Regions from separate parts of the Homo sapiens genome. Here all the other regions are linked to region 1. Evidence: promoter capture Hi-C in 16 types of primary human blood cells and fetal thymus (Javierre and others, 2016). All regions are on one chromosome and are shown on one strand. The core of a region is centred on a gene start or on the middle of the fragment in contact, and the rest is flanking DNA. Distances in the headings are between cores, read along the strand shown.

What was found. Contacts are between HindIII fragments. The CHiCAGO score rates a contact against its expected background, and 5 or more counts as called.
Region 2: a fragment that was not itself captured here is called in contact with the fragment with the promoter of USP37 in region 1 in 1 of 17 cell types (total B cells); the score reaches 5.1 in total B cells.
Region 3: a contact is called between a fragment that was not itself captured here and the fragment with the promoter of USP37 in region 1, in 1 of 17 cell types (neutrophils). The highest score is 5.9, in neutrophils.

The regions. Positions count from the first base shown.
Region 1 is chr2:218,566,703-218,571,476 of GRCh38, forward strand. It overlaps USP37 (ubiquitin specific peptidase 37), which reads right to left and starts at 1,649. Exons shown (of 26, transcript NM_020935.3): 1 at 1,476-1,649. CNOT9 (CCR4-NOT transcription complex subunit 9) reads left to right here and starts at 2,137. Exons shown (of 8, transcript NM_005444.3): 1 at 2,137-2,276. The coding sequence starts at 2,253. RefSeq lists enhancers at 1,492-2,119, 2,120-2,747, 2,542-2,731 and silencers at 1,612-1,681, 1,772-1,831. The HindIII fragment of the contact is 2,574 bases long and covers 401-2,974 here.
Region 2 is chr2:216,493,586-216,498,099 of GRCh38, forward strand. All of the region lies in intron 1 of RPL37A-DT (RPL37A divergent transcript), which reads right to left. Among named protein-coding and RNA genes, the nearest start is that of RPL37A-DT, 2.9 kb to the right of the region's middle. RefSeq lists a silencer at 2,504-2,573. The HindIII fragment of the contact is 4,737 bases long and covers 1-4,082 here.
Region 3 is chr2:216,398,706-216,402,921 of GRCh38, forward strand. The region is part of intron 1 of SMARCAL1-AS1 (SMARCAL1 antisense RNA 1); the gene reads right to left. LOC107985984 (a long non-coding RNA gene) reads left to right here. Exons shown (of 3, transcript XR_001739880.2): 3 at 703-1,043. Among named protein-coding and RNA genes, the nearest start is that of SMARCAL1, 12 kb to the right of the region's middle. The HindIII fragment of the contact is 2,067 bases long and covers 1,374-3,440 here.

The DNA of each region.
Region 1 (4,774 bases), core at 399-2,898:
TACAGATGATAATACAGGAAGCCAAGGCAATCAAGTCCAGGTTTTTTAAGGACTGTGGCTTAAACTAGAAAAGTGACAGTGAAAATGTACAGAAAAAGATGCAAGACACGTATTGGAAGTAGGATAGAACTTGGAGAGAGTAGAAGTCAAGAATGCCTCCCAAGTGTGTAGCCTGTGTCATGTGCCACTTAATAAACTGGGACACTGGAGAAGAAAGAATTTCGATATGGAGAGAAAGATCAAGGCTTTGGATTTGGCTGTGTTGCATCTGAAACTCCTAAGAAAAAAATCAAGTTGAGATGTCAAGCAGACAGCTGGCTATCTAGATGTGGAGCTGAAAACAAAGGGAATAGGCTGGAAATAACAATTTTTAAGTCATCAATATATAGATCAAATTTAAAGCTTAGGGAGGAATATAAGAGTAAAAGAAGAGGACCTAGGACTGAACCCAAATACTCATTTTACTTCATCAAACATCTTTAAGACAAGTGAGTACTTTTATATCACTGGGTTTTTCAGTCCTCCTTCCATTTTACCTTTCAGCAGAATGCAACACTACTGATGACTTTTTTCATGGCTTGCAAGACGCATCCTCCTCTATTGGTTATTAAACAGCAGGAATTCGTCAATGCTCCATCCTAGGTGCCTTTATTTTACAGCACTATACTCTTTTTCGGCAATTTCATCCACATCCATGGCTTCAATTACTATCAATATGGCAGATGACAAACACATACACACACCGCGCACATTTACGTACGCAGCCCAGAACTCTCCTAAGATCTCCAAACCCACTATATCCAACTGCCTACTTGACATTCCCTCTCAGGTATCTCTTCCAGTTAGACACTTGTCAGGAATTGCCACCTCAATAAAGGAATTTATACAGAGCTGAAATTTTGAGAGGAATACCCCAAAACCACTTTAGGACAACTCTTCAGGACACAGGATTTTATCATCAATCATCATTTCCTTTCATGGATCATGACTTAAAATAGTTACATCTAACAACCTGATCTGGCGGCTAGAAATGGGCGCAAGGAAATGCACAACAAAAATACAATTCATGTTTTGCAGTGAGGACTGGTCAAGAGGAAGGTGAAGATGGTCAAGAGAGTGAATGAGTATCATGTCCAAGGCCTGGTGGATGTGCCGTAACGAAAGTCACCTGAAGAGACAGCAGGCCCTGTTAGAAGGTAAGAGGCGAACGACAACAGCCCCAGAGAAAAGGGGCCAGGTTTGAGTTTCGGAGGGAGCGAGTGGCAGTGGAGACCAAGTCAAAGGAGAGGTGGAAGCCGGGGCAGTGCACCCAAAGGTAGTACCTGTGAGGCTGGGGGTGCATCGAGGGGTTGTGGGCGGGCTGAGTAGCAGCAGGGCGAACTCCAGAGGAGTGAACGCCGAGTGGGCGGATCGCACAGAAGGAGGAGGAGGTAGGGAAAACGGCTCAATTGAGAAGCTACCCCGGCCCGCCTTACCTGCGCCGAGGGTCCGGAGCCCCCGGACAGACCCGCGGAAAGCACGGAGCCCGCGAGGAGTGGGAGGAGCCGAGGGTAATGGAAGTAGGGATACCGAACCCAAAGGAGGGAGGCCGCTAGCTACCCCTAGTCAGGGAGAGCGGCTGATGGCGGGAACTGTGACCACACGCAAACACGCACGCACGCACGCACACTCGACGCGACCAGACAGGCGCGTGCGCGTCAGTCGAAAACTCCGCCCCTCACACGCCCTCGCCCCGCCCCGCCAGTACCTAGAGCGGCCTAGCCCGGGCAGCCCCGCCCCTGCCGTGACTGTAGTAGGCACGCGCACTTTCCACCTCACCCGATTTCGACGCCCCCCCACCATTTCCCTCCTACGCAACCCAGTCGGGCATGCGCAATAGTTGTCTTGCCGGGACTGTCCATCTTTTCCCGCCGTTCACTGGCTTTTGGAGGAGGGTCAGAGTTCACGCCGCTCTCTGGAAATAACTGCTCAAAGCCAGAAGTTGCGGGGACTAGTGGTCGCGGACGTCCTTCCGGTCCTAAATCTTAAGGGGCAAAGGACATACTCTGGGACTGTTAACTAGGCCCTGGAGGCGGGAAGAGGATGTGTGGGTGGGGTCAGGGGTGAGAGGTCAGAGGGCCGCGAAGTGGGCGGAGCGAGCCGGAGTCGGATGGCGGCTACGGCGGCTCATTGTTTTCCGCTGCAGGGGTGCTGAAGGGGGGACGCGGGTCGGACGCGTCCGGCTGTGGAAGAGAGCGGCGGCCGCTCACAACATGCACAGCCTGGCGACGGCTGCGGTGAGTGGCTGGGCCCCCAGGCTTGGAACCAGAATCCTTTCTCAGACCCACGTTTCGGCCTTCTCTCCTAATTCCCGGTGTCGGGTCCCTAGTCTGATTTTTTTCTGCCCTCAATCTCCAAGGCCCCGGTTCCCCTCCTCGGCACGCTTTGGTTGTGGTGGAGCCGGCCCCTATTTCCTTGCCGGACGCCTCTCGCGGCCTTCAGCGCGACCCATCGCGTTCTTTGCGGGCGCCGGGGCCTGGTCCCACGCCCGTAGCAGGCCATTCATTGATTTATTGCGCTGACCAACAGTTTCAGGGCGCCAGTTGTGTTCTGGGCGCCGGCGTCGATGAGGGGAATTCCATGGTCAATCTGACGCGGCCCCTGCTCTTAGAACTCACCACGTCGCAGCGGGAAGGAAATGGCTTCTAGTTCAAACCACTTGCTTTATTTATGGAAAACCTGAGGCCCGGAAAAGTGCATAATTTTTGCATCTGACTTAGGTTCTCTGCATTTAAAACTTTTCCTCGACACATCTCGTTTTACCCGCGTGATCTTTTAACAAAAAAGAAAGATAGTGTAATTCAGCTATCCGAAGTAATCCTACTTCTCTTGGCATTTAAATAAAATCTAGACTCCTTGCCATAGCCTGCACGGCCCTGTATGATGTGGTACTTAACCCACGTTTATAATCTCGTTTTATGTCTCTTGCTCCTAAAGCTTCAGCTACTCTGGCCACCTAACCCTCTGCAACGCGCTTATTTTTCTCCAAGATGCACTTTGTGGTCTCTATGCCTGGAGTGAATGTTCTTCTTATCCCTCCTCCTTTACATACACAGCATGAGTGTAATTGGTACCTCTTCCTTGAACTCTCCTTCCTCTCCTTAAACTGTTTATCCAAATCCATCTTTCTTCAGGTCTCTGCCTAAATCGGTCTCAGAGTGGCCTTCCCTGACTATCCTCTTCAAATTAGTTCCGCAGCCTCTAACTTTAGTAGAGTACCCTTTACAGCCCTGATCCCCGTGTAATTATTGTATTCGTTTATTTGTTGTCTGTCTCCTTGAGGGCAGGGACAGGGATCATGTGAGCCCTGTTGACGTGGTTTCCCCGGTGCCAGGACAGTTCCTAGTACAAGATTAAAGACTCAGATACTTTGCTGCATGAAAGAATATTGAAGGGAAGGTGACCACTGAAAGAACATTGCCATGATGGGGAAAGGAGATCATTTGATTTGAGCATACCTGCCTGAAGACCAATTCTGCTTTTTCTGTTTAACCAAAGGGAAATGATTTAAGGAAAGTAATGTACTGAAATTGTATTATCAGGCAAAATGACGTAATTACTAAATAAAGCACCAAAAATTGCCATACGTTTAAGTACAAAAAGTGAAAAATTGAGCCAAGTATGACTAAGCTATAGAAAACTGCTTTTTGAGATTTGATCTCCATTGTCAGTTCCAGTGCTGTTGGTATCTCTGCCTCCTTTCATACTGTTTCTAAGTGTTTGTAACTATTCAATGTAGAGAGTATCTTTTATATCTCAATTAGGTCATTGCAATTCCCCTAGCTTTTTTGTTCCTTCTCCCAAATTATATATGTAACGTGGGGAAAAGCAAGTTGAAAGATGAGTGTGCTGCTATTAGGGGAAAGACAGGTTAAATAAGGGAAATTATTCTAAGGTTGACTTGTCCATCTCTCAAAATCTGATTGTGTCTTCTCCCGAATTTTATCTTCGATACTGAGCCACTCTTTTCCCTGTGCCTTCCCAAACTCTGTAGCTATTCCTTTTATTTTCAATTGCTCCCTAATGCATCTTTTAAACAACCATTAAAGCTGTGGTACATTACTTATAATAAGTACTCAATACATGTTTCTTCACGTTTTCAGTGCCTTACATTAATTTTAAAATTTGAACTTTTAGATGCACTTTCACTTAGGATGTTTGGACCTCGTAGCAGCTCTGACAAATTCCTTCGTACCACTCATTCACTAGGTTATATTTAGCTAGTGAGGAAACTAAAACGTAAAAAGTTGAGCCACCTCATTCTCAATTCTTCATGCCTTCCGTTGGAGCAAACTGCATTATTCTGATGTGGGTAAAGGGACAGTAATGATGCATATCACTCACTGGAATTTGAGAAGCATAATTAATGCATGCAACCGTGCCCAGAATAATCAAAGCCACTTGAGAAGATGCTTACTTTCTGCCGAACAATGAAAGTGTGTATCTGTGACTTTATTTATCTCTTTTTTAAAATAGTAGGTAAATCATCATTTCAGCTAGGGAGATAACAAAGTACTGCCAAATGAGAATGTAAGCCGGGTGGTGTGTGCCCATAGTCCCAGCTACTTGGGAGGCTAAGGAGGGAGGACACTTCACCCCAGGAGTTCCAGGCTACTGTGTGCTATGAAGGCACCTGTGAATGGCCACTGGACTCCAGCTTGAGCAACATAGCAAGACTTTGTCTATTAAGAGAGAGAGAGAATGTAGTCACATGTAAATGCAGGATATTATTCAC
Region 2 (4,514 bases), core at 464-2,963, 2.1 Mb before region 1:
GGCATCAGTTACCATGACTGTAGTGGTTTCATTGTGTCCAAGCTAAAGAAATTAAGGAGAAAAGAGATGGGCATATTTTTAAGGGAAAGAAGAAGGCAGATCTTCTGTACTTCCTTGAGTATGGCAGAAGAGGAGAGAGGATTGAAAAGGCAGAAAGAGATGTTGAAATCAGGTAGCAGCAGCAGCAGCAGCAGCATCTCAACAAACATACTGGCCACTATTTTAAAATGTTCACTAGACACTTCATGGAAGTTATTTTATCTTCCTGAGACCCTTTATTGTACAGTATACTCATTTTGCAGCTGCGGAAAGAGACTTAGAGACTTGAATCATGTGATACAGTGGAGCGAACACACGTTTATGTGTCACTTAATGGCTATGTGACCTTGGGCAAGTCATTTGACCCCCCGGGCCTCAGTTTCCAGTTTGGGCTACATTATCTCTAAAGCCTTTTTCAGTTCTGACATAACTGGACTGACTTTACAAAGCAGAGAAACCCAAACACATGAAACGCTTCATATACCCATCACCATTATACCATGCAAGGTAACAATCCCCCATTCAACAGACATTACTGCTGACACGTCAGGCTCTTGTATAGGTCCTGGGATGCAGAGGTGAACAACACAAGCCCTGTCCTCATGGAATTGACTTGTGGTGACCTCCTTGGGTGGTGGTGGTGGTTGTTTTAAAATAGACTTTATTTTGTAGAACAGTTTTATAGTTATATAAAAAAATTGAGGAGAGAGTATTTTTGTATACCCTTACCCAATTTTCTCTATTGTTAACTTTTTTTTTTTTTTTTTTTTTTTTGAGATGAAGTCTTGCTCTGTCGCCCAGGCTGGAGTGCAGTGGCACGATCTCAACTCACTCCACCTCCACCTCCCAGGTTCAAGCAATTCTCCTGCCTCAGCCTCCCGAGTAGCTGGGATTATAGGCATGTGCCACCATGCCTGGCTAATTTTTTGTATTTTTAGTAGAGATAGGGTTTCACTGTGTTAGCCAGGATGGTCTCAATCTCCTGACCTCGAGATCTGCCTGCCTCAGCTTCTCAAAGTGCTGGGATTACAGGCGTGACCCACCGCGCCCGGCAACATCTTAACATTAGTATGGTAAATTGGTTACAATTCATAAAGCAAGATTAATACATTATTATGACCTAAAGTCTGTAGTTTATTCGGATCTTCCTAGTTTTTAACGTATTGTCTTTTTTTTGTTCTAAGATTTCATGTTACATTTAGTCATCATGTCACCTTACGCTCCTCTTGGCTGTGACAGTTACTCAGGCTTTCCTGGTTTGACAGTTTTAAGGAGCCCTGGTCAGGTATATTGAAGGATGTCCCTCTTTTGGAATTTGTCTATTGTTCTCATGATTAGACTGAGGTTATGGGTTTTGGGAGAAAGATCACAGAGGCAAAGTGCCATTTTCATTCCACATCAAGGGGACATAGTAACAAGATTATCACTGTTGATGTTGACCTTCATCACCTTGGCTGAGGTCGTGTTGGCTATAAAGTTACTCTTTTTTCCCCTTTCTATACTGTGCTCTTTGGAAGGAAGTCATTCTGTGCAGCCCACACTTAGGGAGTGGGGAGTTATGCTCACCCTCCTTGAGAGCAGAATATCCACATAAATTATTTGAAATTCTTCTTGGCCGGGTGCAGTGGCTCACACCTGTAATCCCAGCACTTTGGGAGGTCGAGGAGGGTGGATCACGAGGTCAGGAGTTCAAGACCAGCCTGGCCGTTATGGTGAAGCCCCGTCTCTACTAAAAATACAAAAATTAGCTGGGTGTGGTGGTGCATGCCTGTAGTCCCAGCTGCTCAGCAGGCTGAGGCAGGAGACTTGCTTGAACCCAGGAGGCAGAGGTTGCAGTGCGCCCAGATCATACCACTGCACTCCAGCCTGGGCGACAGAGCAAGACTCGGTCTCAAAAAAAGAAAAAATAAATTCTTCTGCAAAAGAGAGTTGCCTCTTGTCTTTCATTTATTTAGTCTATCATTTATTTATATCCACATGGACCCATGGATATTTATTTTACACTTGGGTTAAATCAATACTACCTTATTTATTGCTCAAAATTTTCTAGCTTTGGCCATTCGGAGTTCTTTCAGTTGACTCCTGTGTCTCTCTGACATATCCCCATCAGTGTAGGGTTTTCTGAACATTTCCTTACTTTCTGGCACAAGATACTGCAGGCTCGCCTTGTATATTTCCTGCTGCAGTCCTAGAATGAGTCACTTCTCTAAGGGGCCCTGGTTCCTTTTATTAAAGAATGATATTATAAACCAAGATCTGGGGTCTGGGCATGGTGGCTCATGCCTGAAATGCCAGCACTCTGGAAGACTGAGGCTGGAGGATTGCTTGAACCCAGGAGTTCCAGACCAGCCTGGGCAACATGGCAAGACTGTCTCTACAAAAATAAAAAAATTATTTGGGCACTACTCAGGAGACTGTGGTGAAAGGACTGCTTGAGCCTGGGGAGGTCAAGGCTATAGTGAGCTGTGATCACACCACTGCACACCAGCCTGGGGAACAGAGCAAGACCCTGTCTCAAAACAAAACAAAACAAATAAAAACAAACCCTGAGATCTGGGGCAGTAGGTATACTCGTCGTTACTGGAGATGTTTGGGGTTTTTTTTTTAATGGTAGTTTTTTTAGATTATAAAAGAAACACATGCTCATTATAAAAGATAATTAGAAAATGCAAAAAATGTATGCAAAAATCAATTTGACTATTCCCACTATCCACTACTTTTTGCTTTTTCTCCTCCTTGAATTTACACAGCCAGAGCTGGAATAACAGATTGGGGAGGATAAAGAGACAACTACCTTTATTCCACAAAATTGTGCAAGATGTGCTGACATAAAGCACATGGTGGGTCACTGCCCCAGTGGCACTCAAAGTCTGGAAGCTCTTCCTGGAATCATAGGAGGGAAGAACTGGACAGGACCTTGAAGACCACCTGGTCCAGCTCCTTGTAAATAAAGATGGTGGCTGCTGGGAGGTGGGGAGGTGGTTCTCCATGTGGGGACTGTGGCTTACCTAAAGTCAAACCACAAGGTAGTTACAGATCCTGGCCCAGACTGAGTGCCAGGGACCTGATTTTAATTCAACTATGTTTTCTGATGTGCTTTTTCAGTGCACTAAATATTATGATTTGGCGTAGTACAAGCTAGCAATTAGGAGAACTAACTTTGGGATCAGACAGACCAGATTTGAGTTCTAATTGCTGTGTGACATTGAGCAAGTTTCTTAACTTCCCTGAGATGAGTTTCTTTTTTCTTTCTTTTTTTGTTTTTGTTTTGAGAAAGGATCTCACTCTGTTGTCCAGGTTGGAGTGAAATGGTGTGATCATAGCTCACTGTAACCTCTGAACTCCTGGGCTCAAGCAATCCTCACGTTTCAGCCTTTTGAGCAGCTAGAACCACAGATGTGTGTCACCATACCTGGCCTATTATTTTTTTGTGTGTGTGGAGATGGGGTCTCGCTATATTGTCCAGGCTGCCTAGAACTCCTGGTCTCAAAGAATCTTTTCCAAGAGAGACTCTGTCTCAAAAAAAAAAAAAAAAAAAAAAAAAAAAGAAAAAGAAAAAAGAAAGAAAAGTATATAATAACTTGTCAGAGGTCCCACAGCTGGTAAATAGCAGAGTTCTGTTTTGAACCCATACTGAATCCAGAGCCTCTAAGTTCCTAATCATTACATGAGACTTCCTCTCTTTTTCTTAGTAATGAAGATAATAATCATTCCTATCATAAAGGATAATGGAAAATTAAATGAGAACATCCACATAAAATACTCAGTGCCTACCATGTGTTACCCTCCAACAATTGTAACCATATGAAGTACATAGCTGTTTGCAAGTTGCTTTGATTTGATTTGATTCATATATATTTTTTGAGACAGAGTCTCACTCTGTTGTCCAGGCTGGACTGCAGTGGCGTGATGACAGCTTACTGCAGCCTCAACCTCCCAGGCTCAAATGATCTTCCCACCTCAGCCCAGGTATGCAAGTTGACTTTAATACAATTGTGAGGAAAAGTGAACAGGTGCAAAATTATTTGAGACAGTTAATATTAAGCTTTGGGAACGGAAGCTACTTGTTACCGGACTTCTGATTGGAATCAGGGCCACACAATGCCTTTCAGCTCCCATGGTCTTTCTTGGCCCTCTAATCATGGATTCTCTCTTACACTCTTATTCCAGTAGTTTTCTGAGCTTCTTATTCTCTGGATTAGCCATCCCCTGAAAAAAGGCAACCAAACTTCCTAGTGTGTGTGTTCTACGTGAAGAAAGAAGATCATGTGTCTAGTTCCAGAACACACCCTCCCCACCCCCGGCCTCAACCAGAAATCCAATTCTTCCCTGCTGACCCCTTTGAGAGACCTGGAGGGACAGAGAATTGACGGTGGGTAAAGGGTAAGATGTTGGAGTTTAAGGGTTCAGGCCTGGACCAGGAAGCTGTCTTAACAGCCTAGTGTGGGGCCATGGAAGTGAGTTCTGAAATGAAG
Region 3 (4,216 bases), core at 1,157-3,656, 2.2 Mb before region 1:
TACAGAGTTGTTTATAACTTGCTTATAACTATCTGAGCTTTAAAAAGTAACAATTTTATATGTAAACAGAGAGACTTTTTAAAAATGATTTTTAATATGCACTAACTGTATGCTAAGAATGAAACTACTCTGTAAATTAAGGGAAGATTAGAGTTTGTGTTGTTAATTTCTTTACCAGATTTGCTCACTCTTTTGGAAAATCACATCATTGACTGCCACACCACTCATGGTAATTGAGTCTCCAATATGCCTGTATTAGTTTTCATTCATAGCTGTCATAACTGTGGTGTTTTGCTTTTAGGAAATAGTGCCTGTCTTATCATGTATCCCGCATAGTCCTCTCTGAGTTGTTGGCTATTGAAATACACCCCTATGTGTGATTCCTTAGCTTCTTCCTACTCTAAGTGTTGCTCAGTCCTTCTCATCATGCCTGAACCAGATACTGTGGTCTCCAGCTGTCTTTCTCTTAGAATAATGTCCCAGCATTTAGGTTTGGTTGGGGACGGGAGCAAGGGGTGGGCATGAATTTCCTGAGCTTCCCTGGCATTTGCAGGGAGACAGCAAGGGAATACCTCTGTGGGTCACAACAGAGGGAGAGCCAGCTGAGCTTGCAGGATGGAAACATTTAGTAGGCTCCCTCCAGCCATCACTGTCTCCACTACTGCTGACGCCACCATCCATAACAAAGCTTCCAATTTGCAGGCTTCAGATTCAGCTTCTGTTTCCTGAGTGCCTCCACTATACCAGCCATTGGGCCAGGCATCCAGAAGCCCTAAGGTAGACCTCATCATCCCTGTTCTACAGGAGAGGAAAACCAAGACTTGGCTACTACAGTATACAAAGGGTGTGGAAAAGTCCTCCTAGAACCCTTACCCTGCTTCCAGGAGGAGCTGGACAGTTCTTTCCAAGTCCAGGCAGAAAGAAGTCTCCTCTTTTTCCATTCTCTTTGTTACTTTATATGTCTGTGCAGGCTTGGTTGAGGAAGAAGGGGGGCCAGAAGGAAGTCTGGCCAGATGGCAGGGTAATAAATGACTCTGACTTAATAATTTGTTGCTCTCCTCTTAATTAAAAGGCTTTTCCCTAAATGATTTGCTGATCACACAAACAGCACACACTAGTTGGGCGAGGACTGGGGGCCCAGGGAAATCTAGACTGAGAGGAGAAGGCATTGGAATAAAGAGGTGGCAGATGGCAGAAGAAGCCCACCCTCCATGTCCCAGGGTGGGCCCAGCTTCAGGAGCTCCCTCCTCCTCAGGTCTGAAACAATTCAATCCAATGATAGAGCTTTGGGGGACTGGTTCTTCTTTCAGGCCTCAGCTTTTCTGGAAGCTGACTTTGCCAGGGGGCTTTTTAATTTCTGGGATGAAGATATAAGCTTTATTTTATCTAACACGTGGCTTTGCATTCAGTTTCCTCAAAGCCCCATGTGGCCTTGGGGGGTGATCAGGTAGCCTTTGGACCATTTTGCATATAAACTGTCACTTATACACTTGATCAACTGGGGTGGTGGTCATAGAGGGGGACAGGGCACCCATTGTTCCAAGCAGCGTCCTGTCAATATCTGCAGTTGCAAGCAAATGACACTAGATAGTGTCAATGGATAAGCTCTCTATTGCATCTTTACAACTGCAATTTATAAGTTCCTGGGATTAAAATCTGCTTTCCAGCAATTATCACACAGAGGTATATTTTCAAAGCCTCACATGTAATTAGAACATGTTATTGATAAAGTGCTAGCTAAAGATTTAGACTTTGAGTCTGTTCATGAGGGATCAGTTTTGTTAATATTGATAATGTTTTCCCCCTTTAATGCAGTTAGGAGTTAGATTGAGATGCCAAATTCAATCAAAATGCACATCTTATCCCCCGCCAAGGGACTTCTGGCTCTCTTTTACTTGTTCAGACTTGTAGAAAGGACCCCAGAGATCGTGTCATATAGGAAAACATCCTGCCAATCTATAACTCTATGTTAAAGAATAAACTCTTTTACACATTATTTTGGTTAACTAGATTTTTCTCAGCATTTGTGCTTCCATCAGATTGGATCATCCTTGCCATAACCACCATCTTCCTATTATTGCTGGATTCCAAATTTCTACTTAGCCAGTTCAGACACCACTTCATCCGCTTAACCTTCCTGATTCTGTATTCCCTGTGTCTCCATCATCAGAGCTCCTCACTAAACCCCCAAGGCCATTTATCTGTGATTGATTGATTGATTTCTTTTTAGAGACGGAGTCTCACTATGTTTCCCAGGCTAGAGCACAGTGTCTATTCACAGGCATAATCATAGCCCACTAAGGCCTTGAATTCCTGGGCTCAAGCAACCCTCTTGACTCAGCCTCCTAAGCAGCTGGGACTACAGGCACACACCACTGCACTGATCTTATCCACAATTCTTTTTTTATTATATTTTCCACACAGGTATTCTCTCTTCTCCTAGTCTTTAAGTTCCTTGAGACAAACTTTCTTTTTAGTGTTTGTATTTCATCTGTTGGCAACAGTATCTTGCACACAAATCATAAAGACCAAGTTGAAGAGGCTTCTTACTTTGTTTCATCAGTCTGCTAATATGTTATCAATATCACACTAGTTTTATTATTGTAGCTTTGTAGTATATTTTAAACATTAATAGAATAATAACTTACATTTATTGATTACTTAATGTATTCCAGGCAATGAGCTAAGTGCTTTACATGATCTCAGGTAATCCTAACAGGAAGTCTATGGGATAGGTACAATTATTTCCATATTACAGATGGAAAAAACAAAATTTAAAGAGATGAATTTACTCCAAGACAAATGCAAAAAGTGCAGAACAGTGTATATAGCACACTGCCATCTGTATGAAAGGGAAGATAAATAAATGTTTTTACTTAAATGTGCATAGAATATATCCAGAAAAATATGCAAGAAATTGATTATGTAATTGAAATATAATAATTATATCCATGATTATTATAAGTCAATTAAAAATAAACAATTTTTTAAAAAAAGAAATGGATGACATTGGCTGCCTGCTGGGAAGGGAATGGGATGCGGGAGTTAAGAATGGAAGAAGAGCAGAATCAAGTTTTGGGTGTGCTGAAGCTCATACAATTTGGGGGGAGCACTTTTACCAAAAAAATACAAAATTAGATACAGAGCCTTAGAAGGGATATATGCCAATGAGGATCTCTGATGCCATAGGTTACTTTTTAAATCTGCCCTCAGCAGAAAGGAGACATTCCACTATATATACTTTTGTATATATTAAATATATGGAGCTTTAATCATGTAAATGCATTGTCTATTCAAAAAGATACAGTTTTTAAAAAATTTATATTTTTTGTTTTGCCAGGCACAGTGGCTCATGCCTATAATCCCAGCACTTTAGGAGGCTGAGGCCGGCAGATAACTTGAAGTCAGCAGTTCAAGACCAGCTTGGCCAACATGGTGAAAGCTTGTCTCTACTAAAAACACAAAAAATAGCTGGGCATGGTGGCACATGCCTTAAGCCCAGCTACTCAGGAAGCTGAGGCAGGAGAATCGCTTGAACCCGGGGGGCAGAGGTTGCAGTGAGCCAAGATCATGCCATTGCACTCCAGCCTGGGTGACACAGTAAGACTCTGTCTCAAAAATAATAATAATAATATTTTTAAAAGCCAGTTCTCCAACTGACTGCATAAAGCAGGACTTTTACATTTTTCAAAAAGTAAATAACTAAGTTTTCATTTTTTCCAGAAGCAGAGGTGTCTGTGCCTATAGCAAGCTGGAGGGGGTGCGGAGGAGGAATTCCAGAGTTGCCTGTTTTACGGAGGCAGGGTAGAGGGACGTGGGGATTTACCTTCGTAATTCAGAGTAGAGATTTGTGTCAAATGTAAAAGGCATATACTGTCGTAACATGGAAAAATGAAAAAAATTAAAAATAAAAGGCATATACTGCACATGTATACATGTAGGGATAAGAAAAAGAGACCCTGCTTTTTCAGAAACGTACAAGAGAAAATTAAGGTAAAAACTCAAATAATATTGCACTGATTGTTAAAAGGGAGCTAATTTCCTGGAAACCAGTGCTGAGGACCAAGGATGTGAGCAGACGGGATGCTAATGCTCTTTCCCAAATGGCTCTGATGGCCCGTGGTTTTCTATTATTGCATCTAGGAGTAGCAGGTCCCTTACTGTAAAGTATCTAGAAATCAGTCAGGCTCTTAACCACTCAATTAGGGTAATTTAT